2 separate regions of the Homo sapiens genome follow, and region 2 is linked to region 1. Evidence: promoter capture Hi-C in 16 types of primary human blood cells and fetal thymus (Javierre and others, 2016). All regions are on one chromosome and are shown on one strand. The core of a region is centred on a gene start or on the middle of the fragment in contact, and the rest is flanking DNA. Distances in the headings are between cores, read along the strand shown.

Evidence for each region. The method cuts DNA at HindIII sites, captures the fragments that hold promoters and counts their contacts. A CHiCAGO score of 5 or more calls a contact.
Region 2: a fragment that was not itself captured here is called in contact with the fragment with the promoter of FOXL1 in region 1 in 1 of 17 cell types (total CD8 T cells); the score reaches 5.3 in total CD8 T cells.

What each region holds. Positions count from the first base shown.
Region 1 is chr16:86,576,802-86,580,718 of GRCh38, reverse strand. It overlaps FOXL1 (forkhead box L1), which reads right to left and starts at 2,170. Exons shown (of 1, transcript NM_005250.3): 1 at 1-2,170. The coding sequence starts at 1,995. The coding sequence ends at 958. RefSeq lists an enhancer at 689-1,310. The HindIII fragment of the contact is 3,987 bases long and covers 1-2,300 here.
Region 2 is chr16:87,620,977-87,624,954 of GRCh38, reverse strand. All of the region lies in intron 1 of JPH3 (junctophilin 3), which reads right to left. Among named protein-coding and RNA genes, the nearest start is that of JPH3, 20 kb to the right of the region's middle. RefSeq lists an enhancer at 3,816-3,978. The HindIII fragment of the contact is 261 bases long and covers 1,151-1,411 here.

The DNA of each region.
Region 1 (3,917 bases), core at 921-3,420:
TGTCCAAGGCATATCCCCTTCCCCTCACACCCTTCCTCATGGTATCCCTTGAAATATTTTGATCCCTTAAAAACAAAAGCAAAAGGATAGGACGTCTGCTGTTGTGGCTTACATAGCTGCATGTGTATTGGCTAATGAGCTATCGTAATGCAAGAAGATGTTATATAGAGTGCACTTTCTTAATAAAAATTGTTAATACAAGCGTTTTCAAAGGTCAATGCTTAGAGTCAAGTATTTATGCAAAGAATGAAACATGTTCTTTTTACTACCCAGAAAGAAATTAAGAGAAAAAGTCTCTGTTTAAAATAAAAGTGTTATTGCTCTGGGTGGTTATCAGCTTCTATAGCTGAACATTGGTCATAAATCCTCATCGGGCCCTACATCTCTCAGAAAACCTGAAAACCCGGGGTCACCCCCGGCACCTCCACAACTTCAAGTCAGGAACAAACCCAGCTGTGACCACCCACCACCCAGATGGGCTCAAAACCAAGGCCTGAGCCACACGGCAACAGCGAAGCAGGCGACGGTCATACGGGGGTCCCCGGTCGAAAGGACCTCAACTGCACCTGTAAGGCCTGCCTTGGGTGGTCTGCGGGCCCTTGCATGCCCGGGACTCGCAGGACCTGCGGTGGGCGGCTGAAGACCACACTCCATTAGACAGGTCAAACGTCAAGGAATCTCCCGCGGTGGAGGTCCCTGCAGGGCCCACGTGCGGTGCCCACGACCCCGCGGGGATCTTTTAAGTCTCCGTAGCTGCTCCCAGTTGCTGGGAAAAGTTTGCTTCGGAGAAGGCAGGCGAGCGCGCCCACCTGCGCGCAATGGTTGGTAACACTTCCCTGAACCCACAGGCCGACCCAGGCAAAGATCATTTTAAAATCCTCCGCCGGTGGGAGCTGTGGCCTTTCGCTCAGCGGAGGCTCAGGCTGGGCCGGGAGAAGAACCGTGCCATTGTTTGCTTTACTGGAAGTGGAGTACCGTGTCGGGAACCTGCAGGGGGAAATAAGAGAGGAAGGGGATCCCGAGCTGGTAAAAGCCGCCCTGGACATGCGGGTCGAGCATCAGGGAAGCGTTGAAAGGCGGACGGAGGCTGGAGGAGGCGGCCAGGAGCGAGGCACCCAGACGGCCGCCGGGCCCAGGCTTGGCACCCCCTAGGAGTTCGTCCCCTGAAGGCGGCTTCTGGCCCTGCTTTCCCGCCAGGATGCTGTCTATGCTGAAGCTCTTGGACTTGTCGGAGCTCTTCGGAGAGCTGCGGGAGGCGGGGCGCAGAGGGGACCCCGGGCCGTCCCCTGTGCGCGCTGCCTGGCCGACCGCCACGGCCGCTGCGCCCTGGGCAGCGTCACCAGCGTCCTCGTTCGGGGACGCGGTCCCCGGCCAGTGGAGGGGCGCCGGCGGAGAGGGGCCGTCCAGGAGGGGCGAGGGGCCCGCGGGCGCTGCCTGCAGGCGGGAGATTGCGGGGCCCGAGCCCCCTGCCCCGCTCCCCGCCTCCGGCTGCGCCTCCGCGCTGCGCTGGTGCGTCTCGGCGCGGGGCCTCTTGGCCTCCGGGGCCCCGGGGCCCGGCTTGGGCTTCCTCTTCCGGCGCCGGTAGTTGCCGTTCTCAAACATGTCCAGGCAGCGGGGGTCCAGCGTCCAGTAGCTGCCCTTGCCCGGCCGCCCTTTCTCGCGGGGCACCTTGACGAAGCAGTCGTTGAGCGAGAGGTTGTGGCGGATGCTGTTCTGCCAGCCCTGCCGGTTGTCGTGGTAGAAGGGGAAGCGGTCCATGATGAACTGGTAGATGCCGTTGAGCGTGACCCTCTGCTCGGGCGCGTCCTGGATCGCCATGGCGATGAGCGCGATGTAGCTGTAGGGAGGCTTCTGCGGGGTCTCGGCCCGGCCCGAGGCAGCTAGAGCAGCCGCGGGGGCGAAGGCCAGAGGGAGGCCGGGTCTCTCGGGACCGTACAGATACAGCATGGGCGAGGCGGCCAGGGCAGGCAGCCGGGGATCGAAGAGGTGACTCATGGCAAGCGAGAGCCTGCGCTGCGCTCCCCGCAACGCAGGAGACCCGGGCGGCCTAGGCACTGCGCCCCGCGCCGCAAGGGCCCTCCCGGGGAGCCAGCCGTGCCTCTGCCTCTGGCTCTGCCGCTCTCCCCGGCCGCTCCGTGCTCTGTCCCTTCTTCATGGCTTTAAAAATGTTAAATAATTGTTGTAAGTTTGCTGTTATATGTTGACTTAGCCCTGGAAAATAAATTGTCTATGATAAACAGTCCTTGTGTTCTCAGCCCACCCACATTAATTAAAATTTCATTGCTGAAAAACTCCAAGCTTTTCCCTCCACGTGTCTTTTTGATACCAGCCAATCGGTTTTGGGGCTATTCCTTCATTTGTTTATAGAATTAGTCTGTTGATAAGTCCGCCCACCCAAGTTGAATCAAGCTGTGTTTATTTGGAAAAATTTCCGGGCACCCAATATATAAACGCACTGATCTGATGTTTGAAATATCACGTCCACCCCTTGACGCTGTAAGCACACACAGTCAGTGAGGCAGGATGTAGACTGCGGTGGCTCAGAGCAGGGTCTGCTGAGCCAGGAAGGAGAGGTGGAGATGGGGGTGGGTGTGCAGGGATGAGTTTTACGCTGGCCTGGGGGAGCCCCATAACGCCAGGGCCTCCCACAAAAGGTCTTTTCTTCTCCCAGGCTTAACCGGAGATATCGAGATGCCACAGTCTAGTAAAACACTTTCTGAGGTCCTAGGAACCTTTTAGATTGGGGCAGGGAGAGTATCTAAGAAGCCTGAGTGTCTGCTGAGAAGGGGATGCGGCCCTCCCTGGAAAAACAGGTGGCAGACCCAGTAGGAGGTGGCACTCTCTAGGGACCTGCTCTCCCACACCCTCCCTTCCAGGGCTCTCCGGAAATCGGAGGGAAAGTGGACTCTGGGAGCCCAGTCTCTCTGGAAGGGAAGGCCTAAGGCACTGGGGGCCTGGGGAAGAGCTCATGGTCCACAGCTCCATTGAGGAAGGTTTCAAAATAAACCCATTTAGAGAACCGGGGGCAAAAGTAAGGTCCTCCTGATGGGGCCAAGGTTGCAAGAGAGGAACACCATAAAAGGAGGCCGTGGCAGCTGGCGCGGGAGGCCTGGTATTTGTGAATGTGGGTCTCCAGCTTTATATTCTGGGCTTTCCTGTTTATAACAAGGAGGGGGTTATAACAACTTTACAAGTGCATGCAGCTGGCCCGTGATTACATTAGGCATTTGGGAAGCCTGCTTGCTCTCCCTGTATCCACCCACCCTGGGGTGTACGCGGCCCTCCACCCCCATCTCATTTTACATTTTCCCACATCACTGTTTGAATAAAAAATCCTGAATCATGCTGATTTCGAAGGGGGCCTCTCCTCCCCACTCCACCGGTTAGGGTAAGGGTAGAGGCACCTAGTGTGACTACTTCCTGTTTATGACCACCCCCTGAATATTAAAACACACACACACTGTCACACACACACCCACACACACACACACACATTCGGATAACTGGCGTCTCATTGAGCAAATCGTGTGAGCATGTCAAAGAGATGAGGGAAGGGGGAGGATGGCAGGTGGGTGTAGAAATGGCCCACTGCCAGTGGGCCAGGAAGGAGGGAGAGGCACCGAGGGCACTTACAGGGGTAGGGGGAGTGTCTGCCGCTGCCACACCCGGCTGAGGATGTGAGTGCCCAGGTAGCCTCTGAACACGGAAACGTGGCGGGCATCCTTTTTCAAAATGAGAAAATCAGAAATAACCCGTGTGTTTGGGGTTCCTGGGTATCCAGCCCATGGAATAAGTAGACCGCAGGGGAGCGGGTAAATTTAAAATACCAAAAAGGAAGTCGCAGGAAGGGTGGAAAAACCGGCCTGGGTACCGGCACTGCCTGCGGGAGCGACAGGCCAGTCCCTGGGACACCTCGG
Region 2 (3,978 bases), core at 32-2,531, 1.0 Mb before region 1:
GGTGGCGCATGCCTATAATCCCAGCTACTTCGGAGGCTGAGGCAGGAGAATCCCTTGAACCCGAGAGGTGGAGGTTGCAGTGAGCCAAGATCACGCTACTGCACTCCAGCCTGGGCAACAAGAGTGAAACTCTGTCTCAAAAAATAAAATGAAATAAATAAAAACTAAAAAAAGCTGTGGGGTATGTGTTCAACAGCTCTTCTCAGAGAGTTGGGCCCAGAGCGACCCAGCCAGGCCACCCCACAATCTCCACCCAGGAGGAAACGAAAGGACGCAAATGGTCACAGCAGCACGACTCAGGATAGCCCCCAGGTGGAAACAGCCCAAAAGTGACCCAGGGCTGGCAAACAGCCCAAACCTCTGCCAGCTTTAGGCTGTTTCCACCCATGAGCCATCCTGAGTGGTGGCAGATTCACACAAAACGCGGTGCCCCGCAGTGGAATATTACTCAGCGATACGAAGAAGTGGACTCATGCAGCTCCCACGCGGGTGAACCCTGAAAACAACGCTGGGCAACAGAAGCGACACACAAAAGGCCTCTCAGCGTATGACTCCACGCATGCGAAACGTCAGGAGCAGCAAACCCACAAAGACAGAAAATGGAGTCTCGGTCACCAGGGGTGGGGAGCCGTGGGAATGGGGAAGGGGTAGCTAGCTAGAGGGTTTCTTCTTGAGACGATGAAAATGTTCTAAAATTGATTATGGTGAGAGTGACACAACTCTGAATATTCTAGAAACCACTGGACTGTACAGTTTAAATGGGTGAATTGTACGGTGTGTGAAACATATGTCAGCAAAGCTGTATTTTTTAAAAGCCAGACTTACTGGAGCCCTTTTTCTGCAATCAGGGAATGAGGGGGACCCTCCATTTGGGGAGTGACAGCGACAACCTGGCCTCTGGAGGCTGCCCCAGCCTCAGCCCTGGGGAGGGCCGCACAGTTACCCTGTCCCCTCCCAGCTGACAGGGACACACCTAGACTTCTGGGCAACGCCAAGGCCATGTTTAATGGCAACACCCTCCATTCCCATTATGGGGGCTCCATGGTGGCTCTCAAAGGAGGAGGATCTTCCAGAAAGCTTGCTCTGCGGCCTCGGGGGACCCCACAGCTGGGCATGTGGTCCCCAGGGAGGACCCCACAGTTTTCAAGCTTTGCCCCTAAACCTCCAAAGACACCCCAAAATCTGCCCAGAGGGTCCTTGTGGCCCATGCGTTGTGGGGGAGTGTTCGGGCCAGGACCAGTGCAGGACTCAGAGATGGGGCCTCAGATTTCAGGCACCACTTTGGCTCCGAAGGAGGAGAGTGAGGTGAGGGGGTCCGGAACTCGGGGTCTGCAGCTCCCAAGGGGTTCACAGAAGGAAATAGAGGTTGTTTTGTTGGGGAATGAAATTGCATCCTTATTTTCACTAAGCTTTACTTGAAATTTAACATTTCCTTAAACTAGAAGATGCCTCAAGCCCACAGTGGTACTGGCCACATCGGTGACTCTGTCACTCATGGAAACGGCATGTCCCCCACACAGCGGGAGCAAACATCCCAGGATAGGGTTACCCCAGGTCCTGCCCTGGCTGGGGAGCCCCCCATGAGCCTCACGCCCACCCTGCTGGACATCAGAGCAGCCAGCCAGGGAGGAATGAGCCAAGGACATCAGTGTCCACCCTCGCCTGCCCCTGCAGCCCTCTATGGATACTGGCTCCGAGTGTCAGCCAGGCCTTGGGGGAGGGATGCTCAAAGCAAGGAAGGTGCTGAGGTCCTTGCAGGACCACACAGCTCCCAGGAGACCAGGACGAGAGCTTGGCCCACGCTGGAACCCAGGCTGGCTGGGCAGTATCCGGGGTGGGCAGAGTGGACTCCTCCATTGAGGCCCCCACTGCTGCCTCAGAATCTGTGGGGCTGGCCTGGGAGGGGCCTGGACACTCCTGTGGCTCCCCTGCCCACAGCCGACCTCCACCAGGTCCCCCTCTGAACTTACCCCCCTGTGGGACCCAGGTAGTAGCGGCCATCGCAGAGAAGGCAAGTCCTCTGAGACCCTGGGACCCCAGGGCCCTCTCATACCCCCAATGCCTTGCCAGCCCTGGAAGGGTGACCAGAGGCTGAGTTGGGGCAGGGCACTGGCTACACCACCTCCCCAGCCCCCCAGCCCCAGCCCACGCTCCCCATCCACTCCAGGTTTAGAGCAGGACCAGGCCTCTCAGCGGCAGGGTGGGGCGGGGGGGGGTCTGATTTATCAGGAGGAGACCCTGACCATCTCTGGGGCTCCCCCAGACCCCATGCACCCTCAGCTCCTCCTGCAGGTCCCAGCCCTCAGTTCCTCATGGAACTTCTTCTGAGCCCGCCTCTGGCAGACTTCCATCCCAGCCACAGCCTCGCAGAAGGGAGAGCTCTCCTCCTACCCCAGCCACAGCCTCACAGAGGGGAGCTCTACTTCCCGGCCCTGCCACAGCTGCTGCTTCACAGGAAGGAGAGGCTGCCTGCACGCCCCTCTGCAGCCAAGGGCCACAGCACCTGGTAGTCACTGAGAAATGGGAACACAGCTGGAGACACCCTCCCACCGCCAAAGGTCAGCAGCACCCGTTCTCACTCCAGCCACTCTCTGTCCTTGCTCACGGAGGCTTGGGTGCCCCCTGGGAAGCTGACCTCAGACCCAAGCCCAGGAGGAGAGGAGGAAATGGCTGGGCTTTCTGGAAACTTCCCCTGAGCCATCACCCAAGAGTCCTGGAGACGCAGGGACGCACAGGACCAGCTGAGGCCTCGGAAGGCAGGCAGCTCTGGGGCAGACGGCGGCAGAGAGGTAGCTTGTGGGGTGGCATGCGGCTGGCTCTGAGGCATCCCCTCCACCCCAAAGGGGCCCCCCCCTGACACCTGGAGCTCCTGCCAGGCTGCGTCGTTCTTCTGTTGGATATAAACCATCTCCCAGAACACCCCAGTGACCCCAGACAAGGTCACTCTGAGATCACAGTAGAGTGAGATAGAAACAGGTCACTGTGCCACCCACGATCACCAACCATCCCCCCTCTCGACTAAGGGGAGGGGCGGCTGCTTCTTGACCCATCTCCGCATTATTTTGGTGCAGGTCTCCCATGTCTACAGGCGACAGTGACCAACGCACCCACAGGAGAATCGCCCCCTTTCCAACAGCACTTGGTCTAGTGAGCCCTACGTCCCTAGACTGTCCCCTCCCCACCACCCACCCAAACCCCAAACCCTAGTGGGGCTCTTCCCAACACCCTCTTGCCCCGTGGTTCCTGGGGGAGTGTCCACCCTCATTGCAGGGAGGAATAAACCCGGCCCTTCAACCGGAGCCTTCCGGGGGCTTGGCTGCCTGCATCCACCGTCTGAGACAGTCCCGGGTGTTTGCACAGCAATTGCTCCTGGCTGGCGGCTGTAGGTGGGTGTGTTTCTCTCAGAGGAGAATCACGAGGGGAAGCCCTGGGGCCTGGGGGGTTGGCCAACGCTCCTGAGAGCAAGAAGGCACTGGTGGGGATTCAGAAGCCCCCAGGCCCAGTCCTGTGGCCTTGGATTCACAGGGCTCAGAACCAGGCCCAGACCACCCTGAAGCCCCTTGCGCAGCCGCGGATCCCAGGTCTGGGCTGTTCCTGTCCCGAACCCCCTCCCCCGGACTCCGTCTATAGGATTTTGGAGTGGCCACCTCCTCCTGCCAGCAGCCCCTCCCGACACAGAGCAGATGGGGGCACTGGCCCTGGCACTCTGGGCCAAGTCGGGTCCAGCTGCCAGGGCGAGAAGTTAGCTGCTGACCCCTGCGCTCCAGGGGACCAGTTTCTTTTTCTTTTTCCTTTTGAGACAGAGTCTCGCTCTGTTGCCCAGGCTGGAGTGCAGTGGCACGATTTCGGCTCACTGCAACCTCCGCCTCCCGGGCTCAAGCAATTCTCCTGTCTCAGCCTCCTGAGTAGCTGGGACTACAGGCGCCCGCCACCATGCCTGGCTGATTTTTGTATTTTTTGGTAGAGATGGGGTTCCAC